Linked DNA regions of Homo sapiens: all the other regions are linked to region 1. The links are contacts of gene promoters, found by promoter capture Hi-C in blood cells and fetal thymus (Javierre and others, 2016). All regions are on one chromosome and are shown on one strand. The core of a region is centred on a gene start or on the middle of the fragment in contact, and the rest is flanking DNA. Distances in the headings are between cores, read along the strand shown. Region 1 holds the start of ASB14 (ankyrin repeat and SOCS box containing 14). Region 2 overlaps SLMAP (sarcolemma associated protein). Region 3 overlaps SLMAP (sarcolemma associated protein). Region 4 overlaps SLMAP (sarcolemma associated protein).

Region 1 (3,797 bases), core at 33-2,532:
GGGTCCCACTGGTCCTTTTTCAGTGTTGTCCAACAAAACTCTGAATCTACACTTTCAGAAGCCTTGTTCAAGTTTATGTAATTCCTCCTTTTGATTTGAGTAGATCAAAGACTGGACCCCATCCCCACCTACCCTACTAAGGTTGAAGATAACTAACTTTCTATGTGTCCCGGTTGGATTTATGCATTTCTTCAATTCCCAAAGACAAGATGTATTAGTTTTTCTCTAGCCCTTCATATCCTCCTTTCTTTCTTCTGATTTCCAGTCTGTATCACCTCACCCAGATTTGCTGCTAACCTCCTTCAGATATTTTTATTGCCTAATTAAATTCTGAATTATTTCCAGATTATTCCTGTCTAGTTAGGCATAATATCTTACAGATATTTAATTGACAGCTCCTTGGATTCTGACCCTCCTGTTTTTGTCACAACACTAGAGTTAAGCTAATGACAAGTGTCAGCTGTTGAATACAACACTTAATACTATATTGCCGATGAGAAAACCATTACCTCTCATCCTTAGGTGCATGTTGTGCTGTTCCTGGCTTATAAATATCCTGCAAACTCTGTTGAATGATGAGCTGGGTGTCAAAGTCTTCATCTATGTCTTCATCGCTGGTGTAATTATCCATGTGAAACGTGGACAGGTTTACTTTAAAGTCAGAGTGAATTAAAAGTATTTTTCCAGTTGTGAAGAGATCAACTGCTTAAAATTACAAATGAAATTCAGAAATCTAGAAAATTGGTAGGATTAACAATGAAAAATATACAAAATTTAGGAAACAAAATATTCACTAAAAAATTTCTATAAACTTAAAAAAGTTTTGTGGACTGCCACAGATTCAACAAAAATTAGAAGTTTCCATGAGTAGCCATTGACTTAAAGCTTATTCAGGAAAAACCACCTTTCAAATAAGACTTCGGTTAGTGCCACTCTAACACTGACAACACTCTGATCTGTTCAACTTGGCTGTGAGTCTTTCACAGTGATTGTAGCACTCATCCAAAATAATATCTTTCCTACACACAGTGTGATGCTGAAAATAATATTTTACTTAATATACATTAAAAATAAACATGTTATAGGAACAAATGTATTCTCATAATTACAACATGGATACAGCAGTAGTAAAAACAAATGTATCTTACTAGGCAATATCTAAATGGTTTTAAAAGAAAAATGTCAGTTTTAGCATAGAATACATTTGGTCACATTTCAAAGACTTTTTACCTTTTGTTTTATCCTCTAGGACAGCAGTGAAGTTTTCACTGTTAAGGACTAACACATGTAAGCCTCAGAATTTTCATTTATATTTAGGCTCTCCTCTCCCCTGTAGTGACCATTCCATTAATAGCTTTACTATAAATACTTCATCATAAGACAGTTTGGCACATTCTCCTTGTTTTTTACATGTGGTTTAGCTCTTTTTGGAAACATGATCTCTTTTCTTCAGTGCTACATTCATCAAATTTAAAGGATTAAATATTTTATTCCTGGAATAAAATGCTTTTGCAGGGGGTTGGCCATGCAAAGAGAATTCATGCACATAGCCACTGCAAACCACAATCAATTTTTCACTTAAGAGAACCCAAACATTTTGCTCTGACCCAATTATCCAAAGTGACTGTCCCAATGTACTAGATTCACTAGGTAGCTGTGACTACATTTTCCTTGGGTTACAGAACTGTGGCCTTCAGTGTCCTTGGAATCCTAAGGGAAGAATTCACTCTACACAAGATAAAATTTTGATCAAAATTCTGTTTTGTTGAAATATTTTTAAATTGTTAATATACACTAAAAAAAGCAAAGGGACCACTTGACATTTCAAATTAAATATGAAGCAAATGCCGAGAAGCACACTGTCACTGCAGGTGTAGAAGTTCGGACTGCCCTCAAGCCATCCTACTGCCTTTGCAGGCCAACTTCGCAGCTTTGAGTTTCCTTTCCTAGTCACAAGGATGCAGTGAGAAATGGAACCGATGTCTTAGAGGTAAGAAATAAAGAGGTATAGTTGGGTAACTTTTAATATTTTCCATATTTATAATTTCTTAATTTATGTATTTGAAATATTTATGTATAATTACTTTAGGTAGGAGAGTGGAAAGTAAACTATACTGAAGCTGAAGGAATGACTTAACATTTGTGAAGGAGATAATTCCTGATATTTGTTAAATGTTACCGTTTAACCCCCAAATCTATTTTTCACATACAATCAAACTTCAAAAAGTTCTCCTCAGAAAGGAGAACAATGCAATGAGTGTTTGCAAAGATCATTTAAAAGAATAACACCAAAACACTTGGTTTTATAATGTATATATTTTAAGTAGGACAGGTTTTTTTTTTTTTAAACTTTTGGATGTTTTATAAATTTGTCCAATTTAGTCATCCAACTGACAAAGCAAAGCAACCCCGCGCTTGATCCAGTGCCGAGTAGGTTGGTCTGTTTTTAACAACATTGCAATGACAAAGTTAGTAGAATGTCCCGTAGTGGAAAGAGTTCCTTTACGTTCACTTGTCTTGTAGAGGGGACAGACATAGGCATCCGACTTTATAATCCGAGATTTTTGAGCTTGAAAAAAAAAAAGAAATATATTCACTTGATAAAGGGAAAAACAGCCATTGGTACGAAAAGAACTATTTATCTTGTAATAAAATGGCCAGAACTAAATCTAAGATCATAATTGTGATATATGAAGGTTTTACAGCATATATATTTTTTTACAGTACATATAGTATTACGGTTGTGAAACAAGGCAAGTATTTCTTTTCTTTTCTTTTTTTTTTTTTTTTTGGAGACTGAGTCTCACTCTGTCACCTAGGCTGGAGTACAGTGGCACAATCTCGGCTCACTGCAACCTCTGCCTCCCAGGTTCAAGCGATTCTCTTGTCTCAGCCTCCTGAGTAGGTGGGACTACAGGTGCCTGCCACCATGCCTTGCTAATTTTTGTATTTTTAGTAGAGACGGGGTTTCACTATGTTGGCCAGGCTGGTCTTGAACCCCTGACCTCGTGATCTGCCCGCCTCAGCCTCCCAAAGTGCTGGGATTACAGGCGTGAGCCACTGCGCCCAGCCCAAGGCAAGTATTTCGTATGGTGCATGATTCTAGGTGTGGAAGACAGGAATAGACTTTAAAGTTCTGACCGCTTAGCAGGCATGAGAAAACTCAAGAGGATTTGGGAGGGGAGAATGAGAAGGGAGGGAAGAAGGAATAAAATACAGTATAGGTAGTGGGGGAGACTCAAAAGAAGAAATACAACTGCTTAGAGCTCTAATCCAAGAAACCCACACATTAGAAGAAGCTGACGTTTCTATTTGTTTTTAGCAGGTAAATAATAAGAAAAACATGTCAACTCTTACCAATTCATGAAAAGAAACTATATACAATCCCCAAAAAGCCAGATATAAGATATTAAGAGTCTTTCCAAACTAAGGTCACGTTTCTCATAGTTATAACTGAACCACATTCGTAATGAGAATATTTGATAGGTTGGATGGTGATTCTGGGTGATCAGTAAATATTTTAAGAAATTGTTGTTATTTAAGAATTAAAAAGTTAGGGAAGAGAAAACAAAAGAATGAGACTTTTTTTTCCAGACTTGTAGAAAGATGATGATGGCAGAAGCAGGGGAGGAGCAAGCAGTTTCCTAAATGGGGCAAAATTGGCCCCCACCCCATGTGGCTAGCAACATCTATGCCTTGGGGGACCTGGCTGGCTCCTAGGCCTAGCAGTTTCTTATAGCCAGAAAATGCTAGTCACTAGCGGGAGACTGTGTCAAGCTAATTTGTGCCTCTGAGCA
Region 2 (3,760 bases), core at 716-3,215, 550 kb after region 1:
TTGATCTTGGGGTTTTCAGAGATTATTATTATGAAGTGTTGAAGGGAGTTGAGCAATCTTTAAACTTAACATTTTTTATTTGTGGGAAAAGCCTTGAATATGCTAGAAGCTTGTTTTTATACCCAACATAATATTTTCCTGTCTTTCAAAAACAGAGACAGTGACCTGAGGGTAGGAGGTTAAGAGAAGCAATAAATTGAAGGAAAAGTAGAGCATTGAATAGGAAAGTGAGAAGGAAAGATTAAGCAGAGCGAGGCCCTCCCATTACTGTCCGTGCTTTCAGTAGAATCATTTATTTTATGCTTGTTAGAAGCCACATACTTTTCCTTGTTTGTTTACTTTTCAAGATATCTGAAGCAAAATAGCATAGGTTTTAAAACATTTTAATTCTTTTTTTCCTTTTTTTTTGTCCTTGGCATATGAAGTAATATCGTAAATTTAAAACATTAATGTGTTTTCTATTTGCGATTACAGCTTAATTATTAAAATTAAAATAAACTTTAGGAAGTTTAATATAACTTAGCTTTTAAGAGTTAAGAATTAAGGTTTTAGAAATGAGTAACTATTAATCAACTAATGATATATTGCTTCTTAAAGACCTTGATGTTTGTATTTGATAATGAGATTTTTCTTTCATGCAGTTTGAAAACTTTGAACAGTTACGTAAGGAATCATCTGTGTTCTCAGGTTCCATCTAGTAGAACTTGTAAATTTTTTCAAAGTCAGTTGGAATGTATTGTGTCTCTATCCTTTGTGTTTCTCTAATTCTTTTCATCTTTGCCCATTTTCTTCTCATTGTTTGTCTTTTCTTATATGGTTAAATATTAGTATCACTTAAATTTTTGCTGCCAATATAGTTATACATAATCTAACTTTCTGGAGAAGATGAATTTTGAACAAGCAATTCTCCAGAGCTGGAGGAAGATCAGAATGGCCTTTAGAGTTGGGTAGTCCAGTTTAAAGTCTGACTCCACTTGTTCTGTGACTTGATCAGGCAACATTTTTCTCATTTGAAATATGAAGATGATGATAGTACCTATTTAACAGGAATTTTATGAGAATTAAACAAGATTTAGTACTTAAAGAACTTGGCATAGTACTTGGCATATAATAAGCACACAATAAACTTTAGCTGTTTCTATTACTGTAAACTAATTTTTAAAAGCATTAAGATGCTTTTGGGTATGCCAGAAAGCCTAGAGTTTAAGTTCCATTGTGTACATAGCATTTATTGCTTTTAAGAACTTCAGAAGATAGTAAGTACTCAACAAGCTGACTTTTTTCCTTCCTTAATTTTTATTACACTGCACAAATAATTTTCCTTTTGTTTTGTTTTCTTTTTTCTTTCTTTCTTTTCCTTTTTTTTTTTTTTTTTTTTTTTTCTTTGACAGCCTGGTTCTGTTGCCTAGGCTGGAGTGTAGTAATCTCGGCTTGCTGCAACTCCACCTCCCGGGTTCAAGCAATTCTTGTGCCTCAGCCTCCTGAGCAGCTGGGACTACAGGTGCACACCACCACGCCCAGCTAATTTTTTGTACTTTTAGTAGAGATGGGTTTTACCATGTTGCCCAGGCTGCTCTTGAACTCCCGAGCACAGGCAGTCCACCCACCTTGGTCTCCCAAAGTGCTGGGATTATAGGCCTGAGCCACCACGCCTGGCCAATAATTTTTAAATGATAAGAAACAGAGAGGCCTGGTCAATAATTTTCTAATGATAAGAAACAAAGAGGCCCAGCCAATAATTGCCTTCCTTCCTTCCTTTTCTTTCTTTCTTTCTTTTTCTTTCTTTCTTTCTTTCTCTCCCTTTCTCTCTCTTTCTTTCTTTTCTTTCTTTTTTTTTTTTTTTTTTTTTTGAGACAGAATCTCACTTTTGTCAACCAGGCTGGAGTGCGGTGGGATGATTTCGGTTCACTGCAGCCTCCACCTCCCAGGTTTAAGTGATTCTCCTACCTCAACCTCCCAAGTAGCTGGGATTACAGGTGCATACCACCATGCCCAGCTAATTTTTGTGTTTTCAGTAGAGATGGGGTTTCACTATATTGGCCGGGCTACCTCAAACTCCTGACCTCAGGTGATCTGCTCCCCTCAGCCTCCCAAAGTGCTGGGATTACAGGCATGAGCCACTGCACCTGGGCCAACCATTTTCTAATGATTAGAAACAGAGAGGCCTGGCGCAGGTGGCTCGTGCCTGTAATCCCAGCACTTTGGCACTCTGAGGCGGACAGATTGCCTGAGCTCAGGAGTTTGAGACTAGCCTGGGCAACAGGGCAAAACCCCGTCTCTACTAAAAATACAAAAAATTAGCCGGGCGTGGTGGTGAGCGCCTGTAGTCCCAGCTACTCAGGAGACTGAGACACGAGAACAGCTTGAACCCCGGAGGCGGAAGTTGCAGTGAGCCAAAATCAGACCACTTCACTTCAGGCTGGGTGACAGAGTGAGACTCTGTCTCCACAAAAAAAAATTTTAAAAATTAAAAAAAAAAATTGCATATAATCCCACCACTCTAACACTAAGTAACTATTTTCATTTTCCACATTTCCTTCTTATGGTTTGTATATGCATATGAACTTAATTCATACTTCAGAATATACTTATATCCAGGGTAGTTTTTGTAAAATACAGATGTATATCACTTATGGAATGTGTTGCCGGATTTTTAGCCATTTGTTTATTAATGGGATTGTTATGAGAAGATTTTATACTTGGGTCACTAAGAAAGGTGAATTAAAAAAAAAATCCCTATTATACCATTTGTTTCTATTTAGACTTTTTTTTTTTTTTTTTTTTGGAGATGGAGTCTTGCTCAGTTGCCCAGGCTGTAGTGCGGTGGTGTGATCTCGGCTCACTGCAACCTCCGCCTCCCAGGTTCAAGTGATTCTCCTGCCTCAGCCTCCCAGGTAGCTGGGATTACAGGTGCCCTCCACTACACCCGGCTGGTTTTTGTATTTTTAGTAGAAACAGGTTTCACCATGTTGGCCAGGCTGTTCCCAAACTCCTAACCTCAAATCATCTGGCATTTAGACATTCTTAAGTTCATTTCACTATATGTGCATATCTGCAGAGAAAAGGATATATACCCACAATGGTTATCTCTGAGTGCTGGTATTGAGTAATTTTTATGTATTTCCTCATGATTTACTTCACACATTTTCCATAATCAATATTTGTTATATTCAAGAAAAATAAATTATTGTTTAAAATGCCTATTTCAATGTTCTGGAGTAAAGTTATACATAATTTTAAAAAAATCTTTACTAGGCACCAACTTTGTTAGGGCCTGCTGATGGGCTTTGGGCATATACAGGTGAATAGGTCATAGTTCCTGAGAACACAGATGTATAATCAAAGAAGGACAGTAAAGTTTATGTAGGCTCAATGAAGTCTGTATCATGGGTGCTCAGAAGGGAGGTGGGTGCTGGTAGTTAATATTCCATTTTATTCAGCATTTTAGTGTATTTGTGACTAGTTGAATTAGACCAGTTCTTACAGTGTTTGCAGTTATTAAGGTGGGATCAAAATTATTCCTATTTTTAACTCACATCTAATCAGTTTTTCAGCAGCTTACATATGATTTATCAGTTCAAGCTAAGAACTTTACTCAGTCAACCTTCAAGCTAACCATTATAAGAATGGCCTCTAGGATGTGGAGTGATTAGCAGCTGGTAGAGGTCATGCGTGGTAGCCTTGTTTTGAGTCCCCTGTACTCACCCCCAACATAAACAGTATCTTACAGGGATTTGTAAAATAGGGACTCCAGCTTCCT
Region 3 (4,151 bases), core at 94-2,593, 570 kb after region 1:
ATGAGGGATCTGCTCCCATAACCCAAACACCTCTCATTAGACCCCATCTCCAACACTGAGGATCAAATTTCAACATTGAGGCTTGGGGGACGAACATCCAAACTATAGGCAGAGAGGTCTTTTTGAATAGTGATTGTACTGTCATCTCGTTACTAAATAATTTTGTTTAAAATTTCAGAATGTTAACATGATAGAACTTCAAAATTGAAATGATAGTAATTTTAGGGAAAAATCTTACTTCCCTCTTTAAAAATACGATTTTTTTTTCCACATTGACCCTTTACCTCTGTGTGTACTGAGCCTACTTGCTTCCTCCAAGTTTCTCTCTCCTGGGTGTTATGGAGGAATAACCCAATGCAGATAATTTTTGACATCAAGCCTTTGTCTTTATCATCTTTACTGGTTTAGAAATGTCAGGTTAGCCGGGCGCAGTGGCTCATGCCTGTAATCCCAGCACTTTGGGAGGCCAAGGTGGGCTGATCATCTGAGGTCAGGCGTTCGAGACCAGCCTGACCAACATGGAGAAACCCCGTCTCTTCTAAAAATACAAAATTAGCTGGGTATGGTGGCGCATGCCTGTAATCCCAGCTACTTGGGAGGCTGAGGCAGGAGAATCACTCGAACCCGGGAGGCGGAGGTTGCCTAGGCAACAAGAGTGAAACTCCATCTCAAAAAAAAAAAGAAAGAAAGAAATGTCAGGTTTACAGATAATGTTCTGTAGAACATTTCTTTTCTACAGAACAAACTTTTCTTAGAAGTTTAAGTGAATAAAGGCATTCCTGGGGCTCGCTCTTAAAACAGAGTTAGGTTTGTTAAATAACTGAATTTTCTTATTTTTCTAGGTAGCAGAGGGAAAACAAGAGGAAATCCAACAGAAGGGACAGGCTGAGAAAAAAGAATTACAACATAAAATAGATGAAATGGAAGAAAAAGAACAGGAGCTCCAGGCAAAAATAGAAGCTTTGCAAGCTGATAATGATTTCACCAATGAAAGGCTAACAGCTTTACAAGGTAAGTAGCTAATCCAGAAATTGATTTTATTTTATTTTTTTTCTTGTTATCTGTGAAATATCTTTTTTTTTTTTGGACTTTTATTTACAGTACGGTTAGAACATCTTCAGGAGAAAACTCTTAAAGAATGCAGCAGCTTGGGTAGGTGGCATCCATATTTCTTACTTAAACCTGAATTTTATCCTTAAACTTTTGACCTTGTTTACTGTCTCACACTGCATTTTTTAAGGGATGTTTTATGTATTAGGTATAAAGTATCTATATTCTTTTAGAAAATTTTCTTTAAAAATATGCTTGATTGCCACCAGTGGGCACCATTGTTTTCCTTGAGATGAGTGAAATTTCTGCTCTGAGATCTTCTACCTCGGGATATTTAAATAAGAAAAGTACATGAACAGCAGGATCCCTTTTAAAGTGTTCTATACAATCTTAATCTTAGGAATGCAGAATGCCATGGTTACACTTGAGACCACATTTAAAGTAATACTTCTTTGATCAGGCAATGATATACTGTCTTAATCCTAGGGATACAAGTTGATGACTTCTTACCTAAAATAAATGGGAGCACAGAAAAAGGTAGTGTAAAAAACTTAAATATATATATACTTTTTATGATATCATTTTAGTATTTAAGCAGGATAAGGAGTTCAGGGTTTTAAGTGTTTGGAATGAAAAGCATGCTCTCACAGATCATTGAACCCCATCATTTAAAAATCAAGCTTTCCTTTATTTTGTAAGAGTTGATGCTGTGATCAATTCTTAGATATCCCTTGTTATATGGAAATTTCAATTACTCAAATCAGAAAATTATTAAGTTCACCTTTAGCAATATATAATATAGATCTTTTTCCCCACTCTGTTTTTCGAAGAGCTGTACTACCATTTTGTTTCATCAAGTTCTGCCTCCAGTGATACTTGACCCCCATTTAAAACATTCGAGTTTATTTAACAGCTTATTGAGCCCTTGGACATATCATAGAAACTACTTTGTTTATCCATCTGTTTCATTGATCAGAGAGAACAGGGTCAGTTTTTTCTGCCATCAGAAAAATCTTTTATTAGTTGTTGGTTCTGTGACCCTTCTTTCTGGACAGCGTGGGTTCTCTCTTGCCAAAAACATATAGCCACTATTGGTTTTCCTGTCACTACACGGGGTACTTTTTACCCAGTGACCTCTATTATCCTTCAGTCTTGAAGATCCCTAGTCATTCTCCTTCTCTCCCCTTCCATCTAACATTAATTGAGCACCAACTATGTGCCAGACCCTGCGCTAGGTGCTTGGAGTACAGTAGAAATTAAACTCTTTTCTGTGTTTACCAATCTATGTGCCTTTCATCTCAGTTTTCTACAGAAGTTAGTCGAAGATATCAGAGTTGATACCCAGAACTTATTAAATATTTTTTCCCTTAGCCAGGCATTGTGGTGTGCGCCTGTAGTCCCAACTACGTGGGAGGCTGAGGTGGGAGGGTCAGCTGAGCCCAGGAGGTTGAGGCAGCAGTGAGCCATAATTGTGCCACTGCACTCCAGCCTGGGTGACGAGCAAGGCCCTGTCTTTAAAAAAGAAAAGAAAAGAAAAGAAAAGACAAAATATTTTTTCCATGTATCAAGGGATATCATAATAGTTCTTGGGCAGCAATCAAACTGGTAGAGTTAGGAGGTGGGTTTTTTGGTTCTTTTTTGGTTTGGTTTTGTTTGGTCAGGTTTTAATCAAGAGCTGGCAGTATAGGCTCAGGTAATTGTGTGTATGTTAGCTGCAAGGTCAAAACCTTATTTGCATATGTAATGAATTTTGAAACTCTCAAGAAAAATGTTCATTAATCATTGCTGTTTGACTATTCTACGTATGTTTTGTAAAATGCATTGACTTTTTAAAATTCCAATTTGATGGAATTTAAATTTGAGAATTTTTAAAGGTGTAGTTTATATTCATTGCGATCAAGCAGATCGCTTGAGCTCAGGAGTTTCAGACCAGCCTGAGCATCATGGTGAAACTTTATCTCTACAAAAAATACAAAAATTAGCCACGCATGGTGGCCACACACCTGTAATCCCAGCTACTCAGGAGGCTGAGGTGGGAGGATCACTTGAGCCCAGGAGGTCGAGGCTGCAGTGAACTGAGATCATGCCACTGCAGGCGATGGGAGTGAGACCCTGTCTCAAAAAAAAAAAAATCATGTCCGGGGCAGTGGCTCACACCTGTAATCCCAGCACTTTGGGAGGCCAAGGCGGGTGGATCACTTGAGGTCAGTAGTTGAAGACCACCAAGGTCTGGACAACTTTGTGAAACCCTGTCTCTACAAAAAATACAAAAATTAGCTGGGCGTGGTGGCACGCTACTGTAATCCCAGCTACTCTAGGAGGCTGAGGCAGGAGGATCACTTGAACCTGGGAGGCAGAGGTTGCAATGAGCCCAGATCGTGCCACTGCACCCCAACCTGGGCAACAGAGTGAGACTCTTGTCTCAAAAAACAAAACAAAACAAAACAGTCAATCAGTCATCACCCTCTTGATTTTATATTAATAATGTTAGTATTAACCCAAGCTGGGAACCTGCTATTCATTCCTTCAGTTAAGAGAATCGTTTTATGTACATGGAACCATCTTTATACTATTTAGAGTTGTAAAATTACTGATTCATTTTTTTCCAGTTCCAGTTGGTTCAGATGAAAATAATAGTAGACTGTTTTCATATTGTATTAATATAATTGTTAAAGACTCCTTGATTTTAAGAATAAATATTTTAGATACTTAAAGGTAACTCCTTGCCATAATTATTTTTTCCTTATTTGTGTGCTTGCTTTTTTGGTGGTGATATATTGAGTTACGGTATGATAGTGACTAATAGAATATTTTAAAAGAAACTAAGCAATAAATTTCTAGATGTACACGAAAACTTAGTTAAGGGTGGACTTTGGAATAAGATGCGTCACTTAATTCCATTCCAAATCACTTATAATAATGAACCAATTTTCAAGTATCCCAGTATTACCAATGTCCATACCCATATTATATAATTTTAACTAAATTATTCTTTAAATAGTAGAGAGCCAAATATAGTTGTAAGAGAATATTTTTAAATATCTGAAGATGTTAAAATTAATAATACTAATACTTTCAGTGAATCCCATTTTAAAAATTAA
Region 4 (4,389 bases), core at 442-2,941, 600 kb after region 1:
CACTTCTAATCTAAGTTCCCCGTCACTAAGCAGTTGACCTTTGACTACAAATGGCAGTGAGAAAAGAAGCAAAGACTTCTTGAAATTCATCACCCATTTCACAAGTTAAGCCACAAATTCTGGGGGTATTCTTATATGGAATAGCCATAACAAGTTATATTTTAATGTTGTATTAAATATTTTGACAGTAATGGTTTTAGATGTGTTTCTAATTTCTTTCAAAATAGAAAATATATTTTAATTTCCTTGATTTTAAAACAATATATATATATATCTACAAATTTTTCAGTGTATGACTATGTGAAGTTAAAAAGTAAATGTCCACCATGTCCCTATCCCCAAAAATAACTAATGATGTCTCTGTTGTAGATCCTTCCAGACCTTGAATAAATATATGCAATTAAAAATTCATAGATAAATGTATAACTATTTTTAATCTACATGGGGTCATATTATACATACTGCTCTTTATTAGGCTTTTTACTTAGTAGTAAATATATCTTGAATAGTTTTCATTCCATAATATATGTATTTCATTTTCCCATAATGAACAATACTTCAGTGAGCATTATGTATCGCATATGTGCTGTGTTACTTCCTTTAGGAAAAGTACTAGAAGTGGGCATGCATGTACAAACAGTGAAATCAGGTCTGTAACATTATAAAAATATATGCTTTATAAATTTATAATCTCACTAAGGAAAGAAGATATATACATATACACAGAATAATACAAAATAAAGTATGATTAATTGAGGAAACAAAAGACACAAAGATACAATTAAAAGGAGCACCATGGTGGAGAAATGAAGACTTCCTTAGAGTTGATGGGACTTAAACTGTATATTACAGAATGAATAGGCCAAGTAGAGAAAATGGCTCTTTTGAGGTTAGGGAAATATTGAATCAAACAAATAATTGCAGGACATAATGCAGGCATGTATTAGCCCTATAATGAAGCTAGCATGACCAGAGCAGAGCTCCTGTGGGAAATAATGTAGGGACCAGATTACGGCTAAATTCTGCTATGTAAAGCTTGACTGAGGCCTTGTGGAGAATGGGGAGATAGGATTTCCATATAGGATTTCATTCAGAGAAATGACATTTTCTGCAAATGCTACCCTAAAGAATGCCATAGGCCAGGTGTGGTGGCTCACACCTGTAATTCTAGCACTTGGGAGGCTGAGGTGGGAGGATTACTTGAGCCCAGGAGTTCAAGACTAGCCTAGGCAACATAGTGACACCCCCTCTAAAAAAAAAAAAGAAAGGAATTCCATAGTATGTACAGATGTGCCATTACAGATGAGGATCTGGGGCCTAATTAATTGCCAGTCATCTTTAATAAACTATTGGGCCTATAGTTAGGATTTCTGAGGACAGTTCTTTGAAAATTAGGCCTAAGATGGCTTCATTGGACCAGGCAGAAGACCTCTTGTAAACAATTTCAAAACTTTTTTTTTCTTTCTTTCTTTCTTTATTTTGAGACAGAGTCTTGCTCTGTCACCCAGGCTGGAGTGCAGTGGCACAATCTCGGCTCACTGCAACCTCCACCTCCCGAGTTCAAGCAATTCTCTGCCTCAGCCTCCCGAGTAGCTGGGATTACAGGTGCCCAGCACCATGCCCAGCTAATTTTTTGTATTTTTTGTAGAGATGGGGTTTCACCATCTTGGCCATGCTGGTCTTGAACTCCTGACCTCATGATCCATCCACCTCAGCCTCCGAAAGTGCTGGGATTACAGGCGTGAGCCACTGCGCCTGGCCCTAAACTTTTTAAAAAGTTTTTTCTTGGCCAGGTGCAGTGGCTCATGCCTGTAATTCTAGTGCTTTGGGAGGCTGAGACGGGAGGATCAGTTTAGCCCAGGAGTTTGAGACCAGCCTAGGCAACATAGCAAGACCTCATCTCTACTAAAAATTTAAAAAAGATATCTGGGTATAGTGGCATGGTCCTGAAGTTCCAGCTGCTCAGGGGGCTGAGGCAGGAGGATCCCTTGAGCCCAGGAGGTCAAGGTTGTAGTGAGCTGTGTTTGTCCCACTGCACTCCAGCCTGGACAACAGAGCAAGACGCTGTCTCAAAAAAAAAAAAAAAGTTTTTTCTTACTGTGATTCAGGGACAGTTATCTTTAGAAATAAAAGGCTGTTAATTTTCTTATTTTAAGTGGCACTTTTTTATAAGAACTGATCGTGGTTTTTTTTTAAGAGTTTTATTATTTGAGTACAAATCTTACTAAAGCAGCCTTCTTACTAGTGTTTTTATGTAACAGAGCCTTCTCCTTTAATCATCTTTATACAGTGTCTGCATTGTCCTGGGAATTGTACTATATTTGTTGCAGTTCTTTGAATACTTTAGCAAAGCTTGCTTCGTTTTTGTTTCCAGTTGGCAAGTGGACAGCCTTGAACAAAAGCCCCAGCCCTCAGCAAAGCAGACATGATCCACATTATAATTTAATATGAGCTACGTGTAATAACCAGCATTCCATTTTGGACAAGGGTGGTGAAGAAGTAAGAGATTCAGTGACCTGACCTATTTTAAAAGTACTTTGCGTACCTGTAGATTTTGAGCATTCATAGCCTGAAGCAGTTTTATTGATATAAGATATTTAACTGTAATAAGATTTTACTTTTATTTTTTTCTTGGTAGAAAATCAGACAAGAGCAAAAGAATCTGATTTTTCAGATACTCTGAGTCCAAGCAAGGAAAAAAGCAGTGACGACACTACAGGTGAGTTTTAACCTAATGTTTACAGACCTGCAGCTGTTAATGGCAGTTTAGTTATATAGGTCAATGTGAGTGGAGATTTCAAAGTATGTGTTTGGGGAAAAAAAAAACGCTTCCATTTATCAAGTCATCCCCTTTGAATGCTGGATATTTTGTTAAAACTACTTTCAACTACCCGAATATAATAGCTGTATCAATTCCAATTGTTTGTTTTGATAACAATAGCTTGCTGATAGATCTGAATACTGTCTGTAATTATATATGTATTTTTTTCCTCTCTGTAGACGCCCAAATGGATGAGCAAGACCTAAATGAGCCTCTTGCCAAAGTGTCCCTTTTAAAAGGTACTTTAACATGTTTTTATGACATCGTAAACCAGGGTATCAAATCACCCTTTGCCATAAAATCTGTTCTAGATATTATGTGAAGTTTTAATTTTTAGTTAAGAGATTAAGATAGGTTCTGTAAAGTAGCAGGGACTAAAAATTTAAAGTTTTGGTGTTTATACCCAATATTTCAAACTATTGTTGAATAATTTGGATCAGTCAAGATTACGAGGGACAAAGTGTTAAGTGGTAGAATATGAAATGCAGCTGTGTTTTTTGTTTACCCTTGTGTCTCTAATAGGAATTTATTAGCGCTTTTAACATAATTAGAATAAGGTGAAAATCTTAACTTTCTTGAAAGACTCACCGGTTTACTCTGTTATCATATGGTAGCAGTTGTAAATTTCCTTATTTTCTGGTCTTCTTCATCTTCTAATAAATATCCCCAGGTTCTTATGACACTCTTCTAGAAATTTTGGGCTAAGAAACTTTAGGTGGATGGCCAGGCATGGTGGCTCACGCCTGTAATCTCAGCACTTTGGGAGGCTGAGGCAGGTGGATCATCTGAGGTCAGGAGTTTGAGACCAGCCTGACCAACATGGAGAAACCCTGTCTCTACTAAAAGTACAAGATTAGCCGGGTGTGGTGGCGCGTGCCTGTAATCTCAGCTACTCGGGAGGCTGAGGCAGGAGAATTGCTTGAATGCAGGAGGCAGAGGTTGTGGTAAGAGGTCATGCCATTGCACTCCAGCCTGGGCAATAAGAGCAAAACTCCATCTCAAAAAAAAAAATGAAAAAAAGAAAGAAATTTTAGATGTTGATAAGATAAGTAATGCATGTAATTAACTCTTTGTCTCACCTCTAAACAGGAAGTACATTTCTTGATATTTACTTGTTTAGAATGAAGTGGGTAGAAAATAAATCAGCATTTATAAAAATGTTTTTAAAATAAAGTTCCTTGGGGATAGTTTACTGGAAAATTGTCAACATTCAGTCTCTTTTATGTTGCCTTATTGTACACAAGAAAAATTGACATATGTTGTAAGTTCAGCCCAGTGGGTTTATTAAAAATGTTGGTAGTGGTGTACTAACACCAGACAGCTCTCTGGGATCAGAGTGACAGTAGCAGCCTGTGGAAATTTCTCTTTGTGGAAGTGCCGATTTTTCTGGCTGGACTAATAGGGAATCTCCTTGTCCAGACCCCGAGCTTTGGGATTATATAAGGAAGGAGCACTCTTACTGATTTGTACTCTTCTTAGGTGATCTTTGGTGTTGATAAGACATGCTTTTTTTCTAATGTCATAATAATAAATATAAGTTAATGTTGGTATGATCCAGAACTCTCATC

The links. The method cuts DNA at HindIII sites, captures the fragments that hold promoters and counts their contacts. A CHiCAGO score of 5 or more calls a contact.
Region 2: a fragment that was not itself captured here is called in contact with the fragment with the promoter of ASB14 in region 1 in 1 of 17 cell types (naive B cells); the score reaches 5.3 in naive B cells.
Region 3: a fragment that was not itself captured here is called in contact with the fragment with the promoter of ASB14 in region 1 in 4 of 17 cell types (total B cells, endothelial precursors, M2 macrophages and 1 more); the score reaches 7.0 in total B cells.
Region 4: a contact is called between a fragment that was not itself captured here and the fragment with the promoter of ASB14 in region 1, in 1 of 17 cell types (M2 macrophages). The highest score is 5.7, in M2 macrophages.

Annotation. Positions count from the first base shown.
Region 1 is chr3:57,291,403-57,295,199 of GRCh38, forward strand. It overlaps ASB14 (ankyrin repeat and SOCS box containing 14), which reads right to left and starts at 1,283. Exons shown (of 11, transcript NM_001142733.3): 1 at 1,231-1,283; 2 at 510-702. The coding sequence starts at 631. DNAH12 (dynein axonemal heavy chain 12) reads right to left here. Exons shown (of 74, transcript NM_001366028.2): 74 at 2,298-2,569. The coding sequence ends at 2,379. LOC124909384 (a long non-coding RNA gene) reads left to right here and starts at 1,389. Exons shown (of 2, transcript XR_007095923.1): 1 at 1,389-1,990. The HindIII fragment of the contact is 5,614 bases long and covers 884-3,797 here.
Region 2 is chr3:57,841,948-57,845,707 of GRCh38, forward strand. All of the region lies in intron 4 of SLMAP (sarcolemma associated protein), which reads left to right. Among named protein-coding and RNA genes, the nearest start is that of SLMAP, 88 kb to the left of the region's middle. The HindIII fragment of the contact is 3,716 bases long and covers 108-3,760 here.
Region 3 is chr3:57,863,706-57,867,856 of GRCh38, forward strand. SLMAP (sarcolemma associated protein) reads left to right here. Exons shown (of 25, transcript NM_001377540.1): 11 at 843-1,011; 12 at 1,102-1,152; 13 at 1,537-1,587. Among named protein-coding and RNA genes, the nearest start is that of SLMAP, 110 kb to the left of the region's middle. The HindIII fragment of the contact is 770 bases long and covers 959-1,728 here.
Region 4 is chr3:57,893,873-57,898,261 of GRCh38, forward strand. SLMAP (sarcolemma associated protein) reads left to right here. Exons shown (of 25, transcript NM_001377540.1): 16 at 2,639-2,719; 17 at 3,001-3,060. Among named protein-coding and RNA genes, the nearest start is that of FLNB, 110 kb to the right of the region's middle. The HindIII fragment of the contact is 1,317 bases long and covers 1,034-2,350 here.